Regions from separate parts of the Homo sapiens genome. Here all the other regions are linked to region 1. Evidence: promoter capture Hi-C in 16 types of primary human blood cells and fetal thymus (Javierre and others, 2016). All regions are on one chromosome and are shown on one strand. The core of a region is centred on a gene start or on the middle of the fragment in contact, and the rest is flanking DNA. Distances in the headings are between cores, read along the strand shown. Region 1 holds the start of MYOM1 (myomesin 1). Region 2 overlaps LPIN2 (lipin 2). Region 3 overlaps LPIN2 (lipin 2). Region 4 overlaps MYOM1 (myomesin 1). Region 5 overlaps MYOM1 (myomesin 1).

Evidence for each region. Contacts are between HindIII fragments. The CHiCAGO score rates a contact against its expected background, and 5 or more counts as called.
Region 2: a fragment that was not itself captured here is called in contact with the fragment with the promoter of MYOM1 in region 1 in 2 of 17 cell types (megakaryocytes and erythroblasts); the score reaches 10.9 in megakaryocytes.
Region 3: a fragment that was not itself captured here is called in contact with the fragment with the promoter of MYOM1 in region 1 in 11 of 17 cell types (megakaryocytes, M1 macrophages, erythroblasts and 8 more); the score reaches 10.9 in megakaryocytes.
Region 4: a contact is called between a fragment that was not itself captured here and the fragment with the promoter of MYOM1 in region 1, in 1 of 17 cell types (M1 macrophages). The highest score is 5.8, in M1 macrophages.
Region 5: a contact is called between a fragment that was not itself captured here and the fragment with the promoter of MYOM1 in region 1, in 1 of 17 cell types (M1 macrophages). The highest score is 6.3, in M1 macrophages.

Annotation. Positions count from the first base shown.
Region 1 is chr18:3,217,144-3,223,229 of GRCh38, forward strand. It overlaps MYOM1 (myomesin 1), which reads right to left and starts at 2,825. Exons shown (of 38, transcript NM_003803.4): 1 at 2,660-2,825. RefSeq lists a silencer at 828-1,122. The HindIII fragment of the contact is 10,525 bases long and covers 1-3,605 here.
Region 2 is chr18:2,967,506-2,973,591 of GRCh38, forward strand. The region is part of intron 1 of LPIN2 (lipin 2); the gene reads right to left. It overlaps LPIN2-AS2 (LPIN2 antisense RNA 2), which reads left to right. Exons shown (of 3, transcript XR_001753322.2): 2 at 67-164; 3 at 2,523-2,604. Among named protein-coding and RNA genes, the nearest start is that of LPIN2-AS2, 3.5 kb to the left of the region's middle. RefSeq lists an enhancer at 5,097-5,246. The HindIII fragment of the contact is 731 bases long and covers 3,285-4,015 here.
Region 3 is chr18:2,985,586-2,991,671 of GRCh38, forward strand. The region is part of intron 1 of LPIN2 (lipin 2); the gene reads right to left. It also overlaps the pseudogene SNRPCP4. Among named protein-coding and RNA genes, the nearest start is that of LPIN2-AS2, 22 kb to the left of the region's middle. The HindIII fragment of the contact is 876 bases long and covers 2,892-3,767 here.
Region 4 is chr18:3,060,822-3,066,907 of GRCh38, forward strand. MYOM1 (myomesin 1) reads right to left here. Exons shown (of 38, transcript NM_003803.4): 38 at 5,986-6,086. Among named protein-coding and RNA genes, the nearest start is that of LPIN2, 51 kb to the left of the region's middle. RefSeq lists enhancers at 1-124, 492-621. The HindIII fragment of the contact is 809 bases long and covers 2,748-3,556 here.
Region 5 is chr18:3,078,371-3,084,456 of GRCh38, forward strand. MYOM1 (myomesin 1) reads right to left here. Exons shown (of 38, transcript NM_003803.4): 32 at 5,619-5,657; 33 at 5,419-5,524; 34 at 809-972. Among named protein-coding and RNA genes, the nearest start is that of LPIN2, 68 kb to the left of the region's middle. The HindIII fragment of the contact is 892 bases long and covers 2,330-3,221 here.

The DNA.
Region 1 (6,086 bases), core at 1,575-4,074:
AAGGTAATAAGTTTCTGTTGTTTAAGCCACCCAGTCCATGGCGCTTAGCTATGATAGCCCGGGCAAAAGAATACAAAGTCCACTGCAATGGTCCAGGCTAGAGGTGACAGGGGTAGCAGCGAAAGTGTGAGAGGTGGTCAAGCTCTGCACAGCTTTTGAAGTTAGAACCAATGGCATTTGCTGAAAGTTCTGAATTAGGATGTGAAAGAAAGAGATGACTCCAAGGTTTTTGCCTGAGCAATTGAAAGACAAGTTGCTATTAACTGAGATGGGGAGGAATGTGGGAAAGTATCAGTTTGGGGTGGAAGAACAGGAGATTGGTTTCAATGCTCTACATCTGAGATGCCTGTTAGACCTCCCAGAGGAGACATTTTAAGTGGGAAGCTGGATACATGACTCTGGAGTGCAGGAGAGAGGTCCAGGATGCAGATATACATTTGGGAGTCAACAGCATATAGGTGGTATCGAAAGCCAAGAAAATAGGTGAGAACCATTGTACACGGAAAAGAAAGTCCTAAAAGAAAACAGATGAGGACCATTATACACAGAAAAGGAAATTACAGGCATGGTGGCTCATGCTTGTAATTCCAGCACTTTGAGAGGCCAAGGCAGGAGGATTTCCTGAGCCCAGGAGTTTGAGACCAGCCTGGGCAACGTGGTGAGACCTTGTCTCTATTATAAAAATTTAAGATAAAATAAAATAAGTAAAATAAAGTCCTAGAACTGAACCCTGGAGTATGCTAATCTTATATATAAGCTCTCTCAAATCTCACAAACATTTCAAGCAAAGGTATAGTCTCAAACCAGAAAACAAAACAAAACAAACAAAAAAACCTGTTTGCTCTATAAGGAACATGCAGGCTTCTAGTCTCCCTACTTAAAGAGGTAAGAGAGTCGATTCCCAGGGTGACAGCTGGCATTGTGAACTTGAGCTAGCAGTTCTACTAAAAGTCAAAGGTATGTTTGTTTAGCATAGGGTGGGGAGATGTCACATGGCCTTAGCATTCTTGAATAGTTTATCCACTGAAGCAGGCCTATCAGCCACGTTGACAACCCTGGATGAAGTAATAGTTTTATAAAAGCTCCACCCCCAAGTGTTTTAATGCTGTAGAATTAGTTTTAAAGTGATCTGTTTTCTCCAAATGTCATTTTTAAAAAAATTCAAAATGAAGAATGAATCCTTCTAAACTCAGCATATTCTTTGTCAAGTTTAAAACTACTTTTTATTTAAACTATTTTAAAAGTCAGCATGTATTCCCCAGAGAAGAAAACTGAGCAAACTTCACTCCAGAAATATTTATCTTAGGGTTCATGGAAGATATCAGTCTACAGGGCATTTCCTAAGGGAAAAAAATAGCTACTAGCAAGCAACTTTGCTTCAACCCTTAAATAGATGGCTATTTTCTGTTACAAAATATGGAGGATAATTACCATGTATAATTAATAACTACTAGATGAATTTTGATAAAACAAAGGGGTTAGAAAATGTTAATACAGAATTACGTTAGGCAGTTATAAAGATATTAGAGAAGTTTCTGTTATGATACTACATTGTAACATGGCACATGTTATTTGAATGATTTTTCAAATAAATAATAAAGAAACTTGTTATGTTATAAACTAAATTCATTCCCCAGATGACTTGAAATGCTGTTATTTTCACAAAATAAAATCTTTAAATATCTTGCCCCAATACTATTTTTTACTCTCTTTATTTCTATTTCTCCCAAATACATTTATTTTTAATAATACTTACTATTCCTCTCACATAGATAGTAAGTTACAAGTAAACAGGGTTTGACTTGAAGCCCACATTGCTGATTGTCACAGCCCTGACCTCTGGAACAAAGGTACAACCACCTCCTCTTCATCAAGTAAGCCCTTGAAGTTAACTAAAGCCAGGATTAGCTCCAACACATGACGGCTGGAGTACGTTGGGAGGAAAGATGGTTTTAGTGTCTTTTGTTTCTTTAAGACCTAAATTTTCTTTCTGAAAATAATTTGAGAATTTAGGAAGAAATACAAATTCCATAGCTGTAATTTATGATACTTTTGTGCAGGCATTAGAGGGCAGAAGCTGATGAAAACGATTCCCAGAAAAATCACTATGTGGGGCTCTATGTTGCCTCTGAAATATTACTTAACCATTTGAGGCCATATCATTGTGCGCGCTCACATTTATCCACATTGCATCGTCACAGCAAGATCCCTGAATTATAAACTAGTGACTTCAGAGTTAATTTTCCTTCTTTCGGTCTAATTTGTAACCAGGGAGCATTGTATGGCACATGCAGGATTGAAAATGCAGGGCCTCCTGTCTCTCATCCATTTCAGATTTCAACCAAACCGTACTTGGAAATAGCATTAAACACACGCTTACAGTTCAATCCGAGGCAGATATGACCTCCTTACAGTTCCAGGAACAGCAGCTTAATTTCAGAAGAATACAGTGATGTGAGAGAAGAGCTGTGCCAGCCCGACTGGCACCCGGCTGTTCTGGTTTCCCTCCCTGGAGCTTCACTTTCCTATTTCTCTGTTATTCTGACATCTCTTTGAGAAAACTGCTGAGTTCAGAAGACAGAAAGAAAGCACTTACACTGCACTGCTGCTAAGCTCATAAGCTATCAAGTGCATTCTTCTGCCTCAGTGTCACACTTACCAGTTTCCAAAGGAGTAATGGTGGTGGAAATGTTCCGATGAGGCCGAGGAGCTGGATGAGAGAATGAAGACTCCACCTAGGTTGAATCCAAGACAATGTTAAGAGGCAGGGCTAAAGACAGGACCCTGGGGGCCAGTTCAAAAATAATGCATGTGGTCAGGCAGTCGAATGTCAGGCCACACAACCAGCCTTTTATGGCCAAGAAGGCAGATAAATATAGCAGCAGATGGGGAGGGTAGTTCCAAACCAGGAGGAGGAGAGGGGCATGGGCAGGTAGCAGCCTTAGTAATATAATTGCATAATGCCGGTCAATGGGTCTGGCCCGATTAAACCAAATATAGGGTTTTTATTTGGCAACAAGAGTTATTTTCAATGTCACTTTATCAGTAGATAATTTAAAAGTGTAATGGAAAGAGTGGTTTGTGTTAACAGCTAAAAATAGGTGTAGTAATATGATTCTCAAAATGGACTTCGTGGAATTTTAATGCCAAGATATGATTCTGAGTGTGCTGTTAACAACACACGTACGGTACATTTAAAAGATACAATGTGAAAAAAGAACTTGAAGCTAACTAAAGGCAAAACAAGGAAGAAATGGGTTACACGTGGTGGCGATTTTTGCCTGACATCACGGTCACTATTTCTCTCACTTCAGGAAAATTTACAAGGTTAAGTCTTAGCTTCAAGCCTGAATATGTGATTTCCTGTTCATTAACTAAAGCCTTTTGAGACGCAACTCAGTGTTTTATCTTTCCTAACTCAGAGTAGGGTCAGTCCATCTAATAAGAGATTCTCTTTCTTTGTTCTTTAAATGGTGTGACCAATTAAGAGGAGGTGTAACCCGGTTGTGAGAGCCTGTGTTGTGGATTCAGACCAGATCTAGATCCCACTATATTGATAGCACTTAGTAGCCATGTAATCTCCAGCAATTTATTTCTCCTTCCTAAGCTTCAGGTTTTTTGTCTATAAAATGGGGATAATCATATCCAAATTATAGGATTGCTGTGGTGATTAAATGTGATACTGCAGACAGAGCACTTGACCTAGTGACAGTCACATAATATAGACTCAGTAAATATCAGCTGTTATTACTGATACCAATAATATAAAAGCTCATTGTTAGATTACATGTATGCAGCAGGTTGGTATTTTGATCTACTGGCCTTATGTTCTGACAGTGATATTACATCAACTGAATAAAGGTCACCTGTGTCTATCAAAATTGTTTTTCTTTCTGAGACAGGGTCTCACTCTGTTGCCCAGGCTGGAGTGCAGTGGTGCAGTCTTGGCTCACTGCAACCTCTGCCTCCCAGGCTCAAGCAATCCTCCCACCTCAGCCTCCCGAGTAGCTACAGGCGCATGCCATCACACTCGGCTAATTTTTTTTTTTAACTCTTGGTAGAAATGGAGTTTCACCATGTTGCCCAGGCTGGTCTCAAACTCCTGGACTCGAGTAATCCACCTGCCTCAGTCTCACAAAGTGCTGGAATTACAGGCGTGAGCCACTGCACCCAGTCTCTATCAAGATATTGAACAGACTCAATATTATAGTATACTTCATCATGACTTTCTTGATGATAACTACAGTTAACACTGTTGAGGACCTATCCAGTGCCAGACACTGGGATAGGCAGTTTATATACATGATCCCACTGACTTATCATACCTTGCAAGGTACAGCTTCATTACCCCGTTGAGGAAAGCAAAGCTTCCAGAAGGGAAGGCATTTGCCAAAGATCACACAGCGGGTAGATGACAGAAACGCAACTTCATTCAGAGACATTTGATTCCAAAGCCCGTGTACTTGTAGTCATGTATTGCTGGCTCCTCCAGTGGCACTTTGATAGTAAGAAACTAGACATTTTGAAATGGCAATACGGGTCTTCACTTGTAATAGACGGTTAGCTTCTGAGCTACTCAAAGTATGTAAAAGAATCTGTTCCACCTAGTTCTGATCCAGGTACCTGTGAAATTCAACCTGGAATTTCTTCATATACATACCTCTGCTATTAGTAAGCATGTGGACATTTTAGCTATCTGGAAGCCATAGGCGAGTTTTCCAAGTGTTATGTTCCCCAAGCATCCATTTGTTCTCTAAATATCCAATACAGAATGCAGTGATTCTTCTCAAGTCTTATCCACCAGCCATTAGGATGATTCCTGGTGAGCTGTTTCTCTAGAGAACATTGGTCAATTGCCCCAAATCTTCTCAAAGCAGAAAAGAGGAAAAATAAACTTATATGCTTTTTAAAAAGTGTTTTACATTAGATGATTTTCTGGGAAATTTGAAATTAACAGCTGGCTAACCACTCCATTAAGTTTTCAGGATAATCACATATCTGTAAGGGTATCATGAGTAAGTGTAATTGACCAGAGTCCACATATATAAAGGAATCATAACTAAGTTACAATAATTGATTCATATGAGCCCAAGTTTTTCTTCTTTAGTTTTATTATCCAGTACATCACCATATGTAATTTATTATGTAGCTAGTTGTAATTCAGATAAATTTGCTGTTAGAAAAACCTGAATCTAGATGATGCCACAGCAGAAAGATCACTTAGGAGATTCTGCTGGGTCTAGCTCATGCTTCTTTTGTCTAAACTTACTGTATATTTGTTTGGAATAAACTCTTGCTTTCACAGGGATCTTGAGTATCAATGAATCAATGATAATATTTTAGTTTTTCTATAGTGTGTGTGCACTTCTCTCATTTTTGTATTTTTAACAAGGATGAAAGTTCAGTAAATATTTAAATGTATTGATACTTGTAGCCAGTACATTTTGACCTAATAAATTATTGTCTGTTAATAAGAAACATAAATGAAACTCTTCTTCTGTAACATTTCTTCCTTCTAATGGACAGTATTGGCACATGGTGCTCTCTATCAACATAAATGTGTACGTGTGCACATACACACATACACACACAAACAGGCATACACACACAGTTAAATGGTTGAGAGGCAGCATAGTATCATATATAGGAGGCTATGCTCTGTGTGGAACAGTCCTGGGTTCCATCCTCTGTCACCTTCTGGTTGTGACTTTAAGGATATTAATCTCTCTAAATCTCAATTTTTTTTTTCTTTTTGAGACAGGGTCTCTCGCTCTGTTGCTCAGGCTGGAATGCAGTGGTGCAATCTTGGCTCACTGCAACCTCGACCTCCTCAGCCTCAAGCAATTCTCCCACCTCAGCCTCCCGAGTAGGTGGGACTACAGGCACATGCCACAACACCTGGCTAATGTTTGTACTTTTGTAGAGATGGGGTTTCACCATGTTGCCAGGATGGTCTCGAACTCCTGAGTTCAAGCAATCTGCCTGCCTTGGCCTCCCAAAGTGCTGGGATTACAGGTGTGAGCCACCATGTCTGGCTGTAAATCTCAATTTCTTAATTCATAAAATGTTTTCATGATAATCATGCA
Region 2 (6,086 bases), core at 2,400-4,899, 250 kb before region 1:
CCCCCAGGGGCTTGCCCACATCGTGTAGGTGCTTAACTGAGTCAACATTTTACAAAACATTTACAGTGTGCCCACCAGATGCTAAGGGATTACAAAGAACGAAAGGAGGTTACAACTTAGCTAGACAGAAGAAAGGAAGAGTATACAACACAGCGCAGTCTAGGGTAAGTTGAAAGCAGGGCCACAGACTCCCGACGCCAAGCCCTGACGGGGAATCCAGCCTTTCCGAGGGAAGCTGTTCTCAGACATTTAAATTCAAGCAAATGCCTTACTTTGTACTTCCTGGTTATTTCTTTTCCCCGTCATAGTAGAATGCCAATTTGTTTCTTTAGTTTTGTATTATTTTATATTAGCTATCTTTAAATTCTCACTTTATAAAACAAGAAATAGAAAATAGCAGCCGCACAAGAACAACCTGGCCTACCCCCCAGGAGCACAAAACAGATGGTTCATTAAAGCCCATGCGGTCTTCCTGAAGCTAAGATGGCCCATGAGAAGTGCTGACAGCTGAGCCTCTAACACTCACCGCTCCTAGACCTTCAGTGGAGAAAGAGCCCCAAATGTCTCCTCAAGAACACAGCGGGTCTCCTGCTGCCCCAGCAGTGTAGGGCGACTGGTCAAAGTGTTCTCCTTCATTTCTAGGACGATTTAGTCCCTGTACAGACTCTGTAAACGAAAACCCAGTGCCTCCCAGCAAACTTCCTGAATACACCGAGTATCCAGACAGCTTTTTCATCACAATGAAAAAGGAAATCTGGAAGAAGCCTTACCCGGGAAAGGCCTCTCGATGTAATCCTCCTACAGGTTTAACTCAGAAACAATCACAAAAAAAGATGCCCATTATACTGGCCTGTTTCTGGTACAGTTCAGTTTTCACACAGTCAAAATTAAGCACCTATTTCATGCCAGTCACTACAGTAAGTCCTTATGAAGATAAACAAAATTCTGCCCTCATCCTCTCTCAGAGGACCTTGGTTCTTGAAAGAGATATAACAAATACTGTCTTATATAATCCCTTATGATAATGCTATTTGGGAGACTGTTAGGAAGACTAGAGAACAAAAAGAGAAAAAATCTACTTGGGAGAGTTAGGTAAGGCTTCAAGCAGCAGAAAATATTTGTTCTAGAAGTGCAAGTATGTGTAAAGGGCTGAACAGATTAAGGAAGGAAGGTTCCCAGTGGGCAGTCCCAGGCAGAGAGAACAGCTTATGGGAAAGTGTGCTAAGTTTGAGGGACAAGAGTGAGATGCCACAAGGCCTTTGACCCTGTGCAAGTTTATCATGTGGGCAATGGGTGCAATCAGTGCTTCTTCTGTTCAGGGAAGCGACAGGATTAGGTCACAGGGGGAGGATGAACTAGAGAAGAGGTAGCTAAAGGCAGAGAGACTACTCCAGAAGTCACCACAACAAATTCAGGCAAGAGACTGCACAGCTCTATGGTAGAAGAGACACACACAGGGAGCTGAGAATCAGTTAGTCTTGATGACTGTTGCATGAACCAACTTAGAGATATGGAAATAAAAAGAGTAGACCTGGTGGGGAACTTCCTATCAAGGTTGAACTTAAAGAACACTACTTACTACCACACTGCTTCAAAAGTTTGTGTACATGAAAATCATTCTGGGTGGTTTTAAAAAATGCAAATTTCTGACTGTTTTAAAGCTTAAGAACTAATTATGAAGATGAGCCAGGTTAGGGAAGCATAGTTCCATGTAAAAGTAAGAGCTCTTGCTACTTTGTGCTACTTCCAAAATCAGTTCAACAGAAAACTGACTACACAAAGGCTCTGAGCCTTGGGAATTGTCCTGTCCTTTGTCTTTTACAGAGAAAAAGTACAGGGGAGTTTTTGAATCGTTCTGAGCTGGTGTTGGGCCTCAGAGGACTCCCTCCTGAGAGAATGAGATTTAGCCAGGATGAGGTGTGCTTTGGAGGATCTGAGGTTCTAGTCAATTCCCCGTAGATCACAAACTCTGTCTTTCTAAATCAGAGCAACCCCATCACCTCCACTGTTTGAAGTCGCAGTCAGGGAGGTTTTTATATCTAACTTCTTTTTCCCCACTAAATGAGGAAAACTGGCAAGGAGCACACTCTAGGTCAGTATTTCTCAAAGAGTGGTCCTTGGACTGCCTGCAATAGAAGCAAGTTTTGGTGCTTAAGAATGTAGGTTCATTCATGAAAAATACGGGAAAGGGGGATAAAAACAAATACACGCTCATGAACCCCAACCCAGACCTACTACATAAAAAGCTGGAAATGAGGTCTTAAAAATCTGTTACCCACGATTCTGACAGACACCCAAGTTTGGGAACTAACTCTAGGCTCTGTTGCAAGAACTTTCTCCTCTTAAGCCTGATTAAGTTTGTTATGAAGACTAAGTTGTTATGGGCTCAAGTTCACATCCTGTCGTATAAAGATGTCAAGGTCTGATAAGTGTGGATCAGAAGTGGAAGCAATAGATAGTAATAGAATTTTAGACATTTTAATGACAGCTGACCTGACTGTTTTATGATACTTAAATTCTAGAACTGGCAGTGCTTCTGTGAAAAAACTCAGAAATTCTGGCCTGGGAAGACTGCTTGCCTAAGGACCCCTTCCACAATTACAACCAAATATTACTCAATATCAACCTTTGGGATACGTAAGAAGAGGGGATTTTCTGATTCAATATTTCTGTTTGGGAATTTAAACAGACACATAATGCAATGGCTAGATCTGAAGGTAAAAACAGGGCTCCCTGGATTTCAATGATTTCAGTGCTCAGAGAGGCACCGAAACACAAGGGTGGGCCCCCAGTAGCCATGTCTATAATACGGGACCCAGGTCTTGGTATCTGCTGGCTGACAGGGGTGGGAAACATCTGGCCCAAACAGATATTCATGAAACGTATATGGAGAGCCAAGGCCACCCAAGACTGGGAGGGCTGGGCTACCTGAGATGGGATGCAGAAGGCCCACCAGCTTGGAACACTGACACCCCAGGTGGCCCTGGCTCTTGCCCTCTTGGCATCTCTCTGAACGATGAGCCAGTCATAAGTTTCTTTGCGTGGTTGTTCAGAGTCCATTTCCAATGTTGCCAACAGAGGACTTAAATCAGACAGGCTAGATCCTGACTGGATAAAGCCACCTGGAGCCCTAAAACACCCTCCTGCAAATATCAGCCTGGCAAAACTAGCAAGAACATGCTTCAAACATAACCCAGATAACACTTTATGCTACTTAACAACTTAATCTGTTGAGAAAAAAATTTTTAATTTTTTAAAAATGAGAAAATATGAAGCTGGCCTTAAGCTTAGTTCTCAGGGCTGATAAGTTTTAAATTAGGATTTTTGGATCTGTCACCATGTTATTTCCTTTGAGGGAATCTGAAAGCTCAGACTTCTGCTCACTGAGTTCACTTCACTATGATGATTTCAACACACTCACTTTCTATAAACAGATGAACTGCTTTGTTGGACTGAGTAGGGCTCAGAAAAGGGAAGACGCTTTCCCAGTATAGCAATGCACCCTCTCTCCGAGTGGCGGCCCAGACCTTTACTCAACGACAGTGTCTACTTCAGCTTTTCAGCAGGTATAACTTAAGGAAGGACCATAAACATCACCTATTTCATCTTCAAAAATTACCAGCCCCCATCTTCTACCCACCCCAGTCATCAGCCCAATAATTTTCTGGACAATTCTTCAAAAGCCAATACCAGTTTTCATCTTAATCTGGTATTTCGTAAGAGGAGCAAGGATGTTTCAGGTTCCCTGGGTAAGGAGGAAGTGGGATCAAAAAGGAACGTACATCCACAACAGATTGTGAATCCCCAGAGCACAAAGGCAAAGATCAAAAAGATGATAGGGGAGGATGTGTGGGCTCAGCGGCTGAGAAGAAAGCAGAGGTCACAAGATGGGATCTGTTGCTGTGAGTGCCCAAGGCCCCCTGCCCTCTCCCTACCACAGCACCCACCACGCGGCATGAACATTTAGGCTACCTTCAAACTCTTGAGTTCCGGTAAGGAAGAGAAAAGTCCCGCAAGCTTCACTGCTTCCTGAAAGCTTGGCACAGTGCCTAGCAATAGTAGGTTCTTAATAAGTGGTTTTGGATCAATGAATGGACCAATGAATAAATGAATGAATGAATGCAAGACCTAGTGAACAGAATCAGCAAGGAGAGGGAGAAATATACACAGTGTTGCGTTTTATCTCACTGACTTAGAGTAAAATTCAAGAGGTAAGTGAAGATACATATAACCATGCACTGGAAAAAAAAAAAAAAAACAGGCTGGGTGCGGTGGCTCACGACTGTAATCCCAGCACTTTGGGAGGCCGAGGCGGGGGGTGGATCACCTGAGGTCAGGGGTTTGAGACCAGCCTGGCCAACATGGTGAAACTCTCTACTAAAAACACAAAAATTAGCCAGGCATGGTGGTGGGCACCTGTAATCCCAGCTACTCAGGAGGCCGAGACACGAGAATCGCTTGAACCCAGGAGGTGGAGGTTGCAGTGAGCCAAGATCGCGCCACTGCATTACAGCCTGGGCGACAGAGTGAAACTCCATATCAAAAACAAAACAAAACAAAAAAACAAAAACAAAGAAAAGAAATCCATGGTGGAAGTTAACCCAAAGTCCCAAAAGCAATGCCCATGTGTTCAGACCAATACTTTCCTCCAGAAGCTGCTGAAGACCTCACAGAGAAAAACTTGCATAAATCTAGTCTATGTCAGTGACAAAAATGACACCGCCTCAGGATGGGTAAATCTAAAAATATCCCCGTGAGAACAAATGACAGCCAAGTAGATCATTCTGGAGAATACTGAGCAGCGCAGCAGCAACTCGCGGCAGAGACTGCTGGTCATCAGAGGAAGTCAGTGTGAAGTCAGCCGAGGCAGGGGCAAGGGTGCCGTAACTGCATTATTACAGAAAACAAAGTGAAACACAACCACAAAGTTATCCATCTTCTACTAGTCAGCTGACTTTTACGAAAATGCCCAATATAATTATGCTACAGAGCACAGCCTTTAAGGAAAATGGCTGGAAACAATAGTTTAATTTTCCTGTGCTCAATAATGTACCAGAACATTAATTTTCTTCAGAAATAGAACCTGGTACAGAGCAAGAAAAACTAGTGTTCAATTTTATCGTTAAATTTCAAAATAACATGTGTGGCTTAAGGAGATCCTAAAACGGTAAGCAGCACCCTCAAAAGGGGGCCCCAACTCCCTTCCTCAGCCCCGACAACATTCACATGGCCAAACTTGTTTCAAACTATCATAGCTCTGTAAAACTAAATGGTTCCTGTTCCCACATTTCTCTTTAATGCTTCTCCCTTCATTTCCCAAAATGAAAATAAAACCTTGTCATGAAACTTTCTGATAATTTAATTCTTGTCTGTTCCCATCAAGGCTAAAATATGCCCAGTTTTGACCTCTGTACATGAGGTGACAGATGCTGTTACAGGGAACATTTAACCTGACTGGCAAATAGAGAGAAATGCAATAAGTAAAATCATTAAGAACTGTAATCAGTTCAACATTCTGTTTATAATTAATAATGAAAGATATTAAACTATTACTTAAGTTAACCTTTGTGTAATGGTTATACCTATCAGCACAGAAAAAATTCCAGCTAAATGTTCATGCCAATTTAGCTATGAAGTTTTAAGATTACAAATAGCTGTACCTTGAACTATTCAAAATAGATTTTTCTTAAAACAAAAAAAAAAGCATACACTTTACAGGCAGGAAAATTAACCCTTTTGTAGTGTACAGTTGTTAGCTGTGACCACACATTGCTGTAGCCACCACTATAATCAAGATACAGATCAATCAGACTGCTCTCCAAAATGCCCAAACCCATCTGGAGTCAATCCCTCTTCCCCACCCATGCCAATCACTGATCTGCTTTCTGTCCCTAGTCTTGCCATCTCTGGAATATCATATAAATAGAACCATACAGTATGTACCTTTGGATTCTGGCTTCTTTAGCTTAGCACAGTCCACGTGACATTAATCAATACTGCTGCATGTATCAGTAGTCTGTTCCCTGTTAAGTAGTACCCCACTGCATGGATGTATCAAATGTTTATCCATTCACTAGCTAGAAGAT
Region 3 (6,086 bases), core at 2,080-4,579, 230 kb before region 1:
AATGATGCTAAGTAAAATATATACCTTCTTTGTTTTTGTTTTTTCTACTACTAATCCCATAAGTATGTAAGACTAGGTATACAGGGCTTTTTAAGAGGGTATAACGATTTATTTAAAACTTTCTAGCTAGAATTTGCTTATCTGAAGCTGTACTAAGCTGGTTCAACAGAAATACCTTTACACCACAAGCATGTTATTTTACCATAAAACATGAAAATAATTGTACTCCCCCCCAGTGGCCATACTATGGAAACACAACACCTTGCTCCTGGATTACCAATGAAGATGTGACAAAACTAAGTTTTGATTATTAAAAAATCATGAAAATATTTTATAACCTCAATTACAAAGAATTTCATAATACCCACCGGAATTCCTCTATAGTGAAGAACCTAAGTGCATTTCTGCATTTTCAAGACTCCTCATGACAAAGGGAACATGTAAAGGACCATGGCTCACCTGAAACAAATGTTTTCATTTAGAGCCAAATGGCTCTCACCATCTACACCAAAGCATATGAAGTGTTTCTTCTCCTAAATGGAATCACTTATAATTCACTGTTTATGAAAACAACCCCAAAGGGACTGACGTTTTATTCAAAACCAAGATAAAATTCCTCTTGCTACCACTCTTGGGTTTTTCAAACATTTGTAGTTTAACTGCTCATTGGGTAATGGTTATATAGTTTACTCAAGTTCCAGTGTTTCATAATATCCTCATATAATCTCAAAATTCTAAACAAGATAGCTAGTGGCTGGCAATTTCACTGAACTGTGAGTGAATAACCAAATGCAAACAGATCTTTCCAGGAACAGAAGAGAAAAAACAAGGGAGGGTCTCCTGAGGTCAGACGCCCAGCTTAAAGTGACTCTCCCAAAGATAAACTTCTTTGAAGACTTGTCATTTATCTTTAAAATTCACACATTTTGTAGTCTATTGTGATAAGTCTATTTTTTTAATGTAAAAAAAAAAAAAAAAGAAAGACTAACTGGCCAAAGCTTTCTTCTTCCAAGTTCAAAGGTTAATGCAACACATTTACTGTAAGAATTAGAGGATGCTCAGTGTACACATCGCAGTTTAAGGAGCTTAGGACCAAACAACCTCTGCGGTCTAACCCTTCCAACACAAATGTTTGAGGTCAAGCTTTTACCCACTATTTGGAGACAAGAGAGACAATACTGAGAGTTGCCTGGCTGTAGCAGTCAAGTGCATCTGAACATTAAGAGAGTAAAGCTGAACAGCCTAATTTAGGATCAGAGTAATTATGGCCTGACTTGTGTCACAACTTTTGGACAACATTTTCAACAAAATAAAGCCAAAAGAAATGGAAAACCCTCTGTTCTGCTCAGGCAGGACTCCTGAGGCCTCAGTTGCTTGACAGGGGTGGAGGTCGGGGGTGAAGAGGGGGCCTGTTAATTGCCTAATTGTTTCTGTTTAAATGTCTTTTTCTTCTCCCATTTCACCTCTGAATAGCAGTTTGCACAGTGATGACACCCTTAGGTATACGATTTTCTGTTCTGGGGTTATATCACCCCCATTTCATTCAAACTCAAAAAATCCTGTTGAAATGCAAGTCTTACTATCATCAAATTTTAAAACACTAAATAATTTTCAAAGTGTAGTGCTTTAATCTTTTCAGAAACAAATTACTTGTTATAGACTCACAATAACAGGGGTGGCTCAGTGCATCACAACACTGAGGCCAAGTGAAGGTGCTGGAAGAAGCCAGTGCTGGGTTCCTATACTCCAGATCAAAAAGTGAGATAGCTTAAAGCTTGTCCCCCAAAAACAGCAACAAACAACAAATAAGGTGAGCAAGAGTTGATTATATCATTAAGACAATCCAAAGAAAATATAAGTGAAAATTATCACAAAATGTATCGGCATCATGTAGGAACCCCTCATCCTCACATTCCTTGACTTATTTTTTTCCACGTGGACATTTCAGGTCCATCTTTGACTCCAATTTTCTCTTCCATAGCTGGTTCCTCACAACAGTTCTAATTCAAGATTTTCTCGACCACCTGAAAAACTGGTGATGGTTGTTTAAATTATTCTGTTGCTGTGATCTCTTTCAATTACTTAAAAATTTTTTATTTAAAAGATATTTGTAATCAGCTTTACTTAGTAAATTACTCTTAGTAATTACTCTTCTTCCTGCCACCTTCTTCCATCTATAGAAACGAACGGCTGCTGTAATTTTAAGTGTACTTAGAATCCAGGAGGGTGGATCACTTGAGGTCAGGAGTTCAAGACCAGCCTGGCCAACACAGTGAAACCTCATCTCTACTAAAAATACAAGAATTAGCTGAGTGTGGTGGCTCACGCCTGTAATCCCAGCTACTCAGGAGGCTGAGGCGGAGGTTGCAGTGAGCCAAGATCATACCACTGTTCTCCAGCCTGGGCGACAGAGTGAGAGACTGTCTCAAAAAAAAAAAAAAAAAAAAAAAAAAGAATCATCATGAGTGCTGCCAGCAGGCCAGATGGGTAACAGTATAAATTACTTATCTGTAGCCTTAAATGGGTCCCCAACAGAATCTGGCAACCCTCCTTTGTTTCTGTGGTCAGCTCTCTCTCCAAATTTCTGGTTCTTTTTCAAACTTCCATGCTCCTCAACCTGACTATATTCTGCCACTCTATTTCCCCATCAGAATGTACAACATTCCATATTCTTGAATGCAGGCTCATTTATGCTCTTCAGGAGAAACGGCAAAAATGACTAATATACTTTGCTATGAGAATAAAGAATTTAGTTTCACAATGTTTAGAAATTCTAATGCTATACTTAAGTGTTATGAAGAATTTTATTTAATTGGTGAAATTTAAATTAAAATGAAAGTAACTGAATTCTTAAATTATTACACTCAGTGAATCTGCCTACTTCAATCTAAAGCTTGACTGAGATGTGTAAGAAAAAGAGAAAACCTGAAACACTGATACTCAGCTTTATATGTAAGTTATATTCTACACATACAGATGAATCCAATTCCAGATGGTGACGGTAATTGCAATCTCCAGTGAGGGTAAAGCCTCAATGCACTAAGTAGTAAAAGAAAAGGGGAAAAGTTAGTCAGCTTTGCTACTCTTTCAAGTTAAATGCTGGTAATGTCTAAGATTTAACCTTGTAATGTCAAGACACAGATAGGATTCAAAAAGCAAAGAGGCATCTGAAAGTTGCAACATGAGAAGAAATGCTCCCTCTTCTAAGGATAAAGCACCATTGAAACAGAACAAGTGTGACATTTCATTTTATTTTTCTTCCAGACTCAACATACTTTAATATAAAAAAGCTCTCTCAGGAACAGGGCATTTAGTTTGTGTAAAAATCTTCAGCCTTTGCAACAAATTAATTGTATTCAATTTGAAAAAGTATACTTCAAGTACAACATAGGTATTTATATTGAAATCATAGAAGAAAACACAATCCTGGCAGCCAAGCACTATTTATTTAGTATTTACTCTAAGCCATACCCTGGAATTAATCCTTTGCATATATTATCTCTGATCTACACAATTCTCATGAAAGACAGATTTGCTTTATCCCTATATTTTACAGATGAAGAAATGGAGGTTTAGAGAGAGGTTATGTTAAATATCCAAGGACAAACCAGCTAGAGCTCAAGATGTCTTCCACAGTACCTTCTTAGACTCATTATTTAAGCTGAAATTCAGATTTACTATGCTAAGTATTTCTAAAATCTCAAACATTATGCAATGCATCTAAAAGAAAAAAAATGCCTAGGAATAAATTTAACCAAGGAGGTGAAAGCTTGTACAAATAAAATTGCAAAAATCACTGAAAAAAAAAATTAAAGATAACCTCAGTAAATAGAAAGACATCCGTGTTCGTGAATAGGAAGACTCAATATTGTTAAGATGCCAATATTACCTAAAGCGATCTTCAAATTCAAGGCAATCCCTATCAAAATTCCAAAAGCCTCAAATTCATATGGAGTTACAAGGGGCCCTGACTAGCCAAAATAATACTGAAAAAGAGCTAAGTTGGAAGACTTCCATTTCTTGATTTCAAAACTTTCAAAGTTACAGTAATCAGGCTGGGTGCAGTAGCTGACGCCTGTAATCCCATCACTTTGGGAGGCCAATGCGGGCAGAACACTTGAGGTCAGGAGTTCGAGACCAGCTTGGCCAACACAGTGAAACCCCGCCTCTACAAAAAATACAGAAATTAGGCAGGTGTGTGGCAGGCTCCTGTGGTCCCAGCCACTCGGGAGGCTGAGGCAGGAGAATCACTTGAACCCAGGAGGTGGAAGCTGCAGTGAGCTGAGATTGCACCACTGCACTCCAGCCTGGGTGACAGAGTGAGACTCTGTCTCAAAAAAAAAAAAAAAAATTACAGTAATCAAAACATTGTAGTACTGGCATAAAACAGACATACAGACCAATGGAATAGACTTGAGAGTCCAGAAATAAACCCAAACATTTATGGCCAATTGATATTTGACAAGAGTACCAAATCCACTGCATGGCGGAAGGAATAGTCTCAACGGATGGTGCTGACACAACTAAGTTTCTATATGCAAAAGAATGAAGTTGGAACCCTACTTTACACCATATTAAAAAATTAACTCAAAATGGATTAATGACCTAAAACCATAAAACTCTTAGAAGAAAACATAGGGTAAATCTTCATGATCTTGGATTTGGCAAATGATTCTCAGATATAACACCAAAAGCATGAGTAACAAAAACTAGATAAATTGGATTTCACTAAAAGTACTTTTTTTTGTATCAAAGGACATGATCAAGAAAAAGAATCATACAGAATGTAAGAAAATATTTGCAAATTGGGGAGTTTAACTCTAGAATATATTTAAAAATTCCTACAACAACTAAAAGACAAATGATTCAATTAAAATATGGGCAAAGGATCTAGATAAACCCTTCTTCAAAGAAGATATACAAAATGGCAAATAAATACTTGAAAAGATGCTCAACATCATTAACCATCCGGGAAAGGCAAATCAAAACCACAATGAGATACCAATTCATACCCACTACGATGGCTATAGTTTCTGTTAAAAAGGAAGAGAGTGGCCAATGGCCGTGACTACTGCAACACACACCTCATCCATGACTCTCCATTTATGAGAAAGACATATTGCAGTGGTAGGAAACAGAGACAGAATGTCAAAGATTACTATTAGAAATGGATGGAAGAACAGGCTCAGAGCCTGACTGACAAAATAAGGGTTGCACTTCAACAAGGAAAGATACTTCCTACTTCAATCTCTGTTCCCCGCCGGCAGGGACAATGATACTACCTCCCTCCAGTCTTCTGGGTCCTCCTCATCCTGGTATGATGCCAGCACCCCACACGGGGCCCTCCTCCTGGGATGATGCCAGTGGGACCTGCTCCTGGAATGAGGCTGCCCATGGGAGGCCACATGCCAATGATGCCTGGGCCCCCAATGATGAGACCTCTTGCTTGTCCCATGATGGTGCCCACTTGGCCCAGAATGACTCGAGCAGACAGAAAGGATAGAGGGGAGGCCTCCCTATATCAGTTTTATATTGCTTGCTCTGCTTCACCAGGAGATCACAATGCTGTGACTCTGGGTGTTTTCTTATCAGTCTGATACAGAAAAGGTGCTCCCCCTTCCTATTAAAGAAAGAATCATTTTGGAGTGGAGAAGTGGGACAAAAAAAGTGCAGTTTTTATCTATATTGTGAAATATGAAAATAAAATTGTCAACTTTTTTTAAAAAAGGAAAATATATGTTAGAAAGAAAACTGGAGAAACTGAAACACTTGTGCACTGTTGGTGAGAATGTCAAATGGTGTAACCACTGTAGAAAACAAGTTTGGTCGTTTCTCAAAAGCTAAATATGGAATTACCAGGCTCGGCACAGTGGCTCACACTGGGGCGGACTAAGGTGGGAGGATCATGTGAGCCCAGGAGTTAGAGACCAGTGTAGGCAACATAGTGAGACCCTGTTTCTACAAAACATAAACAAAATGAGCCAGGTGTGGTGTTGTACACCTATAATCACAGCTCCTGAGAAGGCTGAGGTGGGAGGACTGCTTGAGCCTAAGAGGTCGAGGCTGCAGTGAGCCGAGACCATGTC
Region 4 (6,086 bases), core at 1,902-4,401, 160 kb before region 1:
CTGTTCAGAGGTCAAAGCTGTTGGTGATTTTCCACTTGTGCTGGACATAAACCTGGCAAAAAGGCAGGAATTTTAGGGACAGAGGGCTTTCTACCATGGCAGGTCAGAAGGGCCTGGGGGAACAGGGCCTGACCCACACCAAGTAAATATTTGTTGAATGAATGAATGAATGGAAGAAATGGTATCTTATGGTTTGTCTTTTTTGGAGACAGAGTCTTGCTGTTGCCCTGCCTGGAGAGTGGTGGCACGATCATGGCTCTCTGCAGCCTCGAGCTCCTGGGCTCAAGCATCCACCCATCTCAGCCTCCCAAGTAGCTAGGACTACAGTCATGTGCCACCATGCTCAGCTAATTTATTTTTATTTTTTGTTTTTGGTAGAGACGGGGACTCTCTGTGTTGCCCAGGCTGGTCTCAAATTCCTGGCCTCCTGAAGTGCTGGGATTATAGGTGTGAGCCACCGTGCCCAGGCAATGCCCCGTGTTTTTAATAGAATGACGTAGAGGTAATTGTTTTTTCTTTCTGTTTTGAGATGAAAACAAGGAATTGGTTTCATTTTCATTATTTTTTCATCTGTACTTCAGTGCTGCTGAAACTTTCACCTGAGAGGAGGATTTCAGATTTCTCGATTCTGCCCCCGCAACGAGTTGCTTCTCTTCTTTCTCTGCACAGTCTTCACTTTCATGAAGCCAAATGCCTCCTTGCAATTCAGCTCCTGGTTTTGAGTGTGTAAGGAAGACACACGCTTCTCGTGAAATTCTGGAGAATGTCTCCGGACTGCGTGGGAAGCTTATGAACCAGAGGTGCCTGTACTGACAGAAGCCTGTGAGCAAAGAGGGTTCCGAGAACTGGTTAGCTCTTTCTAGCCGGGAATATTAAGCTGTAAAGAACAAGGAAATGGAGGGAGCATTCACATATGTACTGCAGTTGGCATGGGGGTCTCCTTGGAGAGGCTTCCTGTGGGCAACTATGGGTGCATTCAGTAGGGACATTTAGATAACTAAGATGAGCCCTGGAACAACCAAAATAGAGTCAATGTAATAAAACACTCTCTGATTCTGGGACACGTCCCCCTCGTCTCTGAAAGGAAACACTTGGCTTCAGTTTGGCTCAGCAATGTAACACCTTTTCTCCCGGCTTAGAACCAGCTCTTAGCAAGCAGAGTGGGTGGCTTTTGTGTGATACCATGGGCACTAGTAACGCCTCAGGCTGAAGTCCCGGCCTGATAGGTTATGCCCTTAACCTTCTAAAACCAGAAACGAGAGGAAAGAAACCACAGAAGGAAACTGTAGAAACTCAACCCCAGGGGAGGCGAGCATTACCTTCATAATTTATTGCAAACAGTGCCTATTTTGTTTCCAAAGTGTTTTAAATTAAACTTAGTTGTGTATCATTTGGAATGTAAATATTCATCCTCAAAAGTGAGTAGCAGGGAGTATGGACTGTCTGAGTAACCACAGTGTGTGTGTCTGAGCTTTGTGACAAGTCTACTATGCCTTCTTGATGCTGGGCTACAATTAAAGCATGTTCTAAAAAAAGTAAAAAATGCACTTAGATGTTAGTAAGTATGAGCTAAGTAATTTTGGAAACTTTGGTGTGCATTTTAGAGATTGAGATTTTCATTTACATATATCAGTTGATTCTTCAGAAGCAATTTAAATAACTTAAGACTGTTTTTTAAACATAATCTTATCTCTAAAGCCCAAGGTAGAGGTCAAAATGCAAATATTTGAGGCTGTGATGTGATGGTCACTATGTATCCAGTTTGTAATCCTCCATATAACTGATGTATTAGTATTTTATCTAAACATCTTGCTGTGGGTATGTGAAGCAGGCCCACAGAACAGAACTAATGAACACCTGAGACCGTGCCAGTGTGTTCATTTAAAATGCGCTGCACCTTGTTCTGACACTCGATTTGTTGTAGATATTTGATCCTCTTGAGGCTTGCTTTTAAGCTCTGTTAGGGTGGGGCCAGAGGAGTTTTTAATCCAGGATTAATTTCTCACCTTAGTAGTGCCCCACTATGGAGGAGAAACTTCTGAGGACTCTACCCGAGGCCCACGTATTACAAAGTCTTTTCATTCCGGCTGGTGGACACGGACTCTGTTTCCAGCCCGCGTGAGCTCCAAGAATTGCTTGGCCTGAGGCTTTCCAGATTTCTTTCTCCCGTGCATTTGCTGAATAGTACTCAGCCAAAGAGCATGTGCAGCCTCCAGCACCCTGTCTTCGTGCAACTCTCCTCTCTCTCTTATTCTTTCTCATACATTTTAGACGACCCCGCCTCATTGAACCTCAGTCTCTGTCCCCTCAATTCAATGAGACTGACAGGCTCCCCCTGCTGGGCTGCAGCCTGAGCACTCTGTCTAGGCAAGAAGAAGCTGGAGCAATCACAGGTGTCTCATCACTTTCCCCTTCTCTCAGGCATCTTGGGCCTGCACATCTGCTGGCCAATGCCCTAAACGGTTATTTTTCCATATGTTTTGATATTTTGCCTGTTTTTCTAGTTGTTCATGGTGGGAGGACAATTTCCATAACAGTAATCCTTTGTGGGCAGACAGAGAATCCCGTCTAGCGTAGTTTTGCATTTGCTTCCCTGAGGCCCCGGACCTCGACCATTTTTATGGGAATTCTTGGCTTGAGATTGTTACCATGTGGTGCTGTAAATTTGCACCCCACAAACATGCAGTACTAGTTTGAGGAATCCATTAAATTTTCTTCCATCCAGAACCGCCCCCAGGCAGATGGAAAGCTTCTGTATAGCTTCTCTATGTCAGTTGGTGATATTTTTACTATTCCCATTTTTGTTTTGACTAAGCCACTCTTTGTGCATCTCAGATTTGTGCAGGCATCTTGGGTACCAACTCACTACCTTGAACAATCCAGGTCTACATCTCTCATTCTGGCATGTGTATTAAAACTCCAGTCCCAGATCTTAGAGGCTATATCTAGGCAAAAATTAGTATTTCTGCATTATGTAGGCTGTGCATATTTGATTTTCATGTACTTGAAATGTCTTAGCCTAGTGACTAAGTCCAATTTTTTTTTTTTTTTTTTGACAGAGTATCACTCTGTCTTCCAGGCTGGAGTGCAGTGGTGCAATCACAGCTCACTGCAGCCTTGACCTCCCAGGCTCAAGCGATCCTCCTGCTTCAGCCTCCCGAGTAGCTGGAACTACAGGCTCGTGCCACCACCCCCAGCTAATTTTGGATTTTTTGTAGAGATGGGCTTTCACCATGTTCTCCAGGCTAGTCTCAAACTCCTGGGCTCGAGTGATCCTCCTGCCTGGGCTTCCCAAAGTGCTGGGATTACAGGTGTAAGCCACTGCACCCAGCCTCCAGCTTTGTGATTCCAATGTAAAATGTTTAATTGACTGTGATTTTATGTTCATCTTACTAGGTTTATATACAATATGAGAATATTTATGAAAACTCCAAATTTTCTGTATTTATATACTTAGTTTAGTAGATAAAGTTATTTAAGTTCTTGAGACAGTTTTGTTTAAGTCAGACAATAGTAGTCCTTAAAGTGGAGAGAAAATATATTAATTTATAAATAAAGCTTAACAAATTAAAGGGAATTAAGTTATGCTATAAAAAGCAGCCTTAAACTTAATGTTCTTCAATAGTCAGATTTTTAAATGGAAAAATAATGTTTTAAAGTTGAACTTCAAGAATTTAGGAAGATCTAGGTTTTAAAATGTGTCACTTGACTATTATATATATATATATATATTAATTTTTTTATTTTTTTAATTTTTTTGTGATGGAGTTTCGCTCTTGTTGCCCAGGCTGGAGTGCAATGGTGAGATCTCGGCTCGCCACAACCTCCGCCTCCTGGGTTCAAGCAATTCTCCTGCCTCAGCCTCCTGAGTAGCTGGGATTACAGGCATGTGCCACCACGCCCGGCTAGTTTTGTATTTTTAGTAGAGATGGAGTTTCTCCATGCTGGCCAGGCTGGTCTCAAACTCCCGACCTCAGGTGATCCGCCCGCCTCGGCCTCCCGAAGTGCTGGGATTACAGGCGTGAGCCACTGCACCCCAGCCTATATATTAATTTTATAAAACTGAAGTAAACTCTGAATGGTCTTTTCTGTGTTCCAAGTTGATCCTTTAAGTACCACTACTTCACATTTACCAGGTCACAGATTCATAAATTTTTATGTGTTACAAAGTATCTTCGGCACCATTAAAGTGATGGATCTATAGTTTCAGTTCTATTTTCCCCTGTAGAAATAGCAGCTTTTTACCTAAGCTATTAAATCTTGAGGTCACTGGTTTAGTTTGGTCATAATAATGGCTGAAATAATTCTTATAGCTGTTTTGTTGAGCAATCTCAGCGTATGGAGCTCCGAACACAAAAGCCATCTCCCCAACTCACTGCTGCTGTGTCCCAGCAAACCCCTCTGCTGGGCGCAGGGGTCTTAGGGCACACTTTGATTTCATACATTTTTGCACAATTTCAGAATTTGGAATACACTGTTTTAAAATTTTGTTTCCACCTGATTCAACACCCGTCTTGCTTTCTCCCCAGTCTGGGATCCAGCAGGTGGAAATTAGGGAAGGGGTGGGAGGTGCTGCTTGCAGAAACCTCACCTCTCTGACACTGGGAGCTCTGTTGCTGGCTTTTTGAGGGGTGTGGTGGGGGCTTTTCGGAGAGTCTTAGGGGCCTCTCGCTTGCACAGCCCTTGGCCCTTGGCATGGGAGGTCTGCCGCCGCTTGAACCTTTCCCACCCCCACCCCCACCCCGCCACCCTCCCATCTTTAGCTCCCCAGCAGGTGTCCACCCACTGGCAGTTTCCTTCCGGGTCAGCTTGTTCAGATGTAGCCCTCTTACTGAGGCAGGCAGAACCGCAGACTGCTCATGGCCAGCCACCTTCCATGGGGTCCGCTTGACCCTTGGGAAGCTCATCTCCTTGCCATATCTGGGAGTGAGAACACAGCATCTGGCTCCTGCCTGGTGTTCAGTGTCATAGCAGCAGCATCCAGCACTTGTTTGGACAAGTGGATTGGCCACAGTCAGATGAGAAGCAATTTCCAGCCTTAAACTTGTAAAGGAGAGGGTGTGTAGGAGCCCCTGCCAACTGTATAAGGAAATTTCTTGTCTCATCCGCTACCTTTGGCAGGAGAAAGAAGGGGAAAAAATTGTTTTTATGAGATGGTCTTGTTCTGTTGCCCAGGCTGGAGTGCAGTGGCGCCATCATGGCTCATTGCAGGCTTGACCTCCCAGGCTCAAATGATCCTCCCACCTCAGCTTCCCAAGTAGCTGTGACTATAGGTGGGCACCACCACACCCAGCTGATTTTTAAAATTTGTTGTAGAGAGGGGTCTCGCTGTGTTGCCCAGGCTGGTCTTGAACTCCTAGACTCAAGCAATCCTCCCGCCTCAGCCTTCCAAAGTGCTGGGATTACAGGTGTGAGATACTGCACCCAACAGAAAAAAACACCATGACGATTTTCCTAGAATGGTGTGTGTTATGTGTGTGTGTGTGTGTGTGTGTGTGTGTGTGTGTGTGTGTGGTGCTGGGGTTGGGGAGGACAAAACTTTCTACAACAGCTGCTGCTGGGATGCTGACCCTCAGCAAACCCCTCAGGGAGTGGCAATTTCCACAGCTGGCAGTTCTCTGAGCTCAGAATGAGGCTTCTTATGTACCTTTTATTCTTAGCTGTGGGCCCTTAGTCTCCAGTTCTGGCAGGAGGCGCCTCACACCATCTTATCACATGTAATTGTCACATTACATTCAATTGCCTTGTGTATCTTATTAATGGAATTGGCTTGATTGTGTGGTAAGCCACCAGATGTGCAGTGGCCGTGTAATTTCACACCCCTGAACCTCGTTGAGCTCAAACGACTTATCTGATCATGTTGCAAGGTACTGCTTTCACCAAAAGGAATTTAAATCAGAAGATGTGGCACAAGACGCGTTGAGAAAGAAGCACCAAGAAGCCACCCAACCTAGCAGCAAAACAGCAGGAATTTGAGAAACAGTGTCGGGGAAGAGGACAGACGTGAAAACTGTTTATTCATACAGAGGAGGTTCCAAGCCACGAGGCGCCCGTCGAAAAGCACATCACCTCTGTAACAACACACG
Region 5 (6,086 bases), core at 1,526-4,025, 140 kb before region 1:
AAAGTTAGTCCACAGTTGTCTTTATTAACTTTAATACAGTATAGACTATTTTATTTTATTTATTTTTTATTTTTTTAGAGACAGAATCTTGCTCTGTTGCCCAGGCTGGAGTGCAGTAGTGTGATCTTGGCTCACAGCAGCCTCAACCTCCAGGGCCCAAGTGATCATCCTAGCTCAGCCTCCTGAGTAGTAGGGATTATAGGCATATGCTACCACACTTGGCTAATTTCTTAAAATTTTATATTTGAAGAGCTGGGGCCTCACTATGTTGCCCAGACTGGTCTTAAATTCCTGGCCTCAAGTGATCCTCCCACCTTGGCCTCCCAAAGTGCTAGGATTAAAGGCCACCATGCCGGCAGACTATTTTATTTTTGTAAGAAAGAATAAGATGAAGAGTATAGTTCTGGGAAAGGGATAAATGGTCCAGTATTTTTTTTGACTTTTTGCTTATAAGTGAGCATTTTTAATATTTATTTATTTTTATAGAGATGGGGTTTCACTATGTTGCTACAGGCTGGCTGGTCTTGAACTCCTGGGCTCAACTGATTCTCCTGCCTCCCACAGTAACTGGGACTACAGGTGTGTGCCACTTTACCCAGCTACTTTTTTTTTTTTTTTTTTTTTTAGAGATGAGATTTTACTCTGTTGCCCAGGCTGGTCTTGAACTCCTGACTTCAAGTCATCCTCCTGCCTTGGCCTCTCAAGGTGTTGGGATTACAGGCATAAGCCACCATGCCCAACTCCCTTCATTCCTTTTAAAAGGCTCATTCATCTAGAGTAAATTTGAATCTGCAAAATATCTGTTTACCTTGTCCAGAGAGATCCACTGTCTTCTGATGTCCAGTTTTGCCATCAAAGAGCTCCATGACATACTTCCCTTTGTCATTCGGGGTGGGCTCGTTGATTTGTAGCCAGATCTGCTCTCCAGTGACCCCGGTCTTAACTCTGTCTGAGTACCTAATGGCGGACCCACTGTGAAAATCGAAGAAAACTTCCTTAGCATTTGCTTCCATCCAGGGCTGATCTTTACTTTGTCTCTCATTGAAGCTCTTGCCATAAAGTTTTGTAGGCTTTCAAAAAACGAGGGATCTGCATATGTTATTCTTCTGCTTCAGAAAAATTATGGGCCATGACACACAGAACCGGGATTCCAGGGCCCAAGGTGTGACAGTCTGAACATTTATTTGTTAATAACTCCTCATAGCAGTCTGAGGCCCAGTGCAAATCACAATACTAATACTTCTCGGTGGCATTAATTATCTTTGTTTTTGTTTGGGTTTATTTGTAGGACTAGGGTAATCTATAAAGCTAAAAGGCCAAACTACATACTATTTTACTGCATATTTCATCTAGATAATCTATGGCTATAAATCAGATTCTACAAGCTAGTCCAAAAACACACTTATGGAGGCTCATCTGTGCCTGACATCTATTGACATATGTTGTTAGAAAGCTATTTAAAACAGATAAATATGCACTTGGTAGTAGAGCCAAGAGTGAATGAAAAGCAGAGTTGCCGCCAACACGAATGAGGCATGTTCTCTGTCCCGGGATGTGAGTTTCTCAGAATTCTACAGTAGGTCATGAGCAGACCCATGCAATATATTCTCTGCAAGAGAATATTAGGAAATACAACCCTTTTTTGTGTGATCTTGGTGTAGAAATACTACAGATATAGACGAACTAAGAGAAAGCTAGGTAGATGTACTTTTAATTATGTTAAAAGAAACTTTATGAAGAAGTTATTAAAACTGAGGAAATGTTTAAAAAGTGGCATACAAAATGACGTTAAAAAGTGGTATATAAAATGACGTTATTATAGTAACCATCATGCATAGAAAAAAGGCTAGCAGGAAGTACCCTAAAATGTTCATATTATGGCTGGTAAAACTATGGATACTATTATATTATAGTTTTTTCTAATTTATATTATTATAAATGTATTTTCTGAAACAAGCATGTCTTACGTCTGTTGTAATAAACAAAATGAACTTTGGAAAACATAGAAAAACAAATTTTCTGGCTGGTCACGGTGGCTCACACCTGTAATCCCAGCACTTTGGGAAGCGGAGGCAGGCGGATCACCTGAGGTCAGGAGTTCCAGACCAGCCTGGCCAACATGGTGAAACCCTGTCTCTACTAAAAACACAAATACTAGCTGGGCATGGTGGCATGTGCCTGTAGTCCCAGCTACTCAGGAGGCTGAGGCAGGAGAATCGCTTGAACCCGGGAGGCGGAGGTTGCAATGAACCGAGATCACGCCATTGCACTCCAGCCTGGGTGACAAAGTGAGGCTCCATCTCAAAAAAAAAAAAATTTCCTACCTAAAAGCTTTTAGCTTTCTAATATTTAGCATTTTTAATAATATTACATTTTTTAAATAACATTATTTATCTAAAAAGATATTAAAAATAAAGATGCCATAAAATGTAAAGACAGATTTTGGCATGAGCAATAGATGTGTCTTAGAGAGTTAAACAGGGCCGGGCGTGGTGGCTCACGCCTGTAATCCCAGTACTTTGGGAGGCCGAGGCAGGTGGATCACGAAGTCAGGAGTTTGAAACCAGCCTGGCCAGCATGGTGAAACCTCGTCTTTACTAAAAATACAAAAATTAGCCAGGCATGGTGGCACACGCTTGTAATCCCAGCTATTTGGGAAGCTGAGGCAGGAGAATTGCTTGACCCTGGAGGCAGAGGTTGCAGTGAGCCGGGATCACGCCACTGCACTCCAGCCTGGGTGACAGAGTGAGACTCCGTCTCAAAAAAAAAAAAAAAGAGAGAGAGTTAAACAGAAAGATTGTCCTCTGCTTTGCTATAATAAATCTGTTTTAAATCTTTAATCTCTGGGTAACATGAATAAGGGTACCTTACATCTGTAATGTGCTTCCGATGGAATAGGTACTATTGGTCCTATTTTATATAAGAGAAAACTGAGATTCAGAAAATTAAATGACCTGTCTAAGATCATAAGGCAAGATAGGAACAAAGTGAAGACTAAAATCCGTTTCAAGGGTTTTTTTCCCCTCTATGCCACATACAGACAGCAAAGACCATCCTTATCCCTGAATGTCATAGGTACACGGAAACACAAGAGACATAATTGATTGACTAGACCAAATAATTAAGATACTTATGCTTTGCTGGCCTAATAGCAATTTCCTCAAAACATACTTTCAGTGTTCTCATTTTTGAACAAGTTAATTCTTTTAGAGAAGATATAAAGCTTTTTGATTGATGATTCAATGAATTTTACTTCTCTCATTCTTCAGACTGATATATTAGAATGTCCTAGATGCCACAGAGGAATTTCCTGGAATTTGATCTATTTTAGCTAATAATTACTTTCCTAAAATGTATTCTGAAAGAAACAGAACAAAGGAATAAGCCCCAAGCATTCTACATTGGAATTTTACTAATTCTCATTTTTATGACTCAGGAAATAATAAATCATAATACTAACGAAAACACTGTTTTATATAACAGTAAAGTCATCTTAAAGAAAACACAAATGGCTGCTTTGTGGGGCCTGGCTCTGGCTAACTGTTCAATCTAGCCCAGTGGTCCCCAACCTTTTTGGCACCAGGGACCGGTTTCATGGAAGACGATTTTTCCACAGACCAGGTCGGGGGTGGGTTTGGGGATGACTCAAGCACATAACATTTATCATCAGATTCTTATAAGGAGCGCACAACCTAGATCCCTCGCATGCGCAGTTCACAATAGGGTTCGCGCTCCTATGAGAATCTAATGCCGCAGCTGATCTGACAGGAGGCGGAGCTCAGGTGGTCATGCTCGCTCCCTCGCCCACCACTCACCTCCTGTTACACGGCCCAGCTCCTAGTAGGCCACGGACTGGTACCGGTCCATGGCCTGGGGTTTGGGGATCTCTAATCTAGACTTCACACGGCTGGAATCCAGTGGCAGGTAGTACCATGATGAACCGGGCTCTGGAGCCAGGCTGCCTAGGCTCAGCCTTGACCTACCTCTTAGCTGTGTGACCTTAGGCCGGTCACCTCCCCGAGCCCTAGCTCCCTCATCCCTCAAGTGAGGAGCACCTACCATGTAGAATGGTGAATGTGAAATGAATTCACATATGTAAAGGGCTTTGAGCAGTGCCCCCCATATTGTCAATGCCACTGAGGGTACAGTGTAAGGAAACTTATTATCTGCACCCTCCTGGGGATGCCATGTGACCTTCTTCTCAGTGGGGCTCCTAGGAACATTTGCAGTTTGGAACATTTGCATCCTGAAGTTGGACTGAATGTGGCTACATTCCATTGGATTATCTTTGCCAGGCCTCCGTTCTCTTTCAGCTCAGGATATTTCAAGGAAACACAGAGGTTAAGGACACTGTCAAGAGTGTAAATGGGAGGCCTGGTTTGATTTGGAAACTGATTTCAGCTCTTGGAATCCCAGAAGTGAACTTGAATAGAGTCCCTGTATAACTGCACAGAGGTTCAAACTCACCTTCCCCAAAGTCAACTTGAGATCTCCAAAGCCTTCTGAGAGTGGACCAGAAACATGCTAATGTCTCACTCTGCCAGATGCTATAACAACAACAATAATCTTGGGCACTCGTTGGATTAGGCTTCTTTGGTGAATGCCCATTCATTCATATCATGGGAAATTTGGTGCCTCCTGGTGCACACTGCTTCATTTCTGTTCCAGACCACAGATGTGTTAACCGTGTGTATAGAAAGAAAGGTAAGAATGTGGCTCCAGATGCCTGGCACAGCAGAGAGAGCCCAAGCATGACTGTCTGGAGGTGGAGGCTGCATTATAGAGATGTCTATGAATTATGGTACTTCTTAAATCACAAAGAAAGATGTACTGTAACTATGACTGGCCTCAGCATGTACATGTTGAGGGAAAGAGCTAACCTCACAGTAACAGAATGCCTTGGATGTTTATCTCCTGGGCTCACCAATGTCAGACTTGAGAATTAAGAAGACTCCTTACTTGAGAAGAACAGAAAAATTTTTTCCCTATCCTCCCCTCTTCCAGTGGGGAAAGAATTTCTTTTTCTTTCTTTCTTTTCTTTTTTCTTTTTCTTTTTCTTTTTTTTTTTTTTTTTTTGAGACAGTGTCTCACTCTGACACCCAGGCTGAAGTACAGTGGTGCAATCTCGGCTCACTGCAACATCCGCCTCCTGGGTTCAAGCAATTCTCATGCCTCAGCCTCCCCAGTAGCTCAGATTACAGGTGTCTGCCACTGCGCCCAGCTCATTTTTTTTTTTTTTTTTTTTTTGTATTTTTAGTATAGACAGGGTTTCACCATGTTGGCCAGGCTGGTCTCGAACTCCTGACCTCAAATGATCCACCTGCCTCGGCCTCCCAAAGTGCTGGGATTACAGGTGTGAGCTGCCGCGCCTGGCAGGGAAAGAATTTCTACACAGCAAGTAAGTTCTCATTTACTTACTTGTGGGACCAGTTAACTTTCAAATCCTCCACATAGTAAGTTACAAAAGAGTACAGTTGGATGCCCTCGGCTGTGCTCTGGATTTTCAGGTCTGTAGCAGACAAAGCTGAAAGAAGAAAATAGCATATTTCATACATCTGCATGCCCCTCCTGGCAGGAGGATCATAAAGCATTGTTGTGGTGCGAAATGTTTGACTCACCTATTTTTTTGCATACTTCCATCATCAGTTCCTTAAAGGCTGTGGAGAGAGATTCAGAGCCAAAACTTTAGCATAAAAATTCTCAATGTAAGGTTAAATCTCAAATTCTTAGCTCTCAAAAATTCCCTTTCTGGTTGAAAGGAAATGGAAACAAGGTGAATTTGTCGACCCACTGATAATGAGTATTCTTTGAGGAAATAGTTCAATTTTATCAGGTTTTAAAAGATCCCTGCTTATTTTGATTTTTTTTCCCTTGAATTCTTTGTCACAATCGCCATATTTACATTCTAGAGAAAGGGCCACAAGAGATTTCTAGGAAGGTTCTTGGCTTTGGGATTCTCTTTCTTCTTAATTCCCAGGAAGCCTTAGTTTACATTAGAGGACATTTTCTTAGCCGTGTCATCGATTCATAATGAATTAACCATGTAGGTCTCCTGGCCTTCATCAGCCTGATAATGCTTTTTGCCA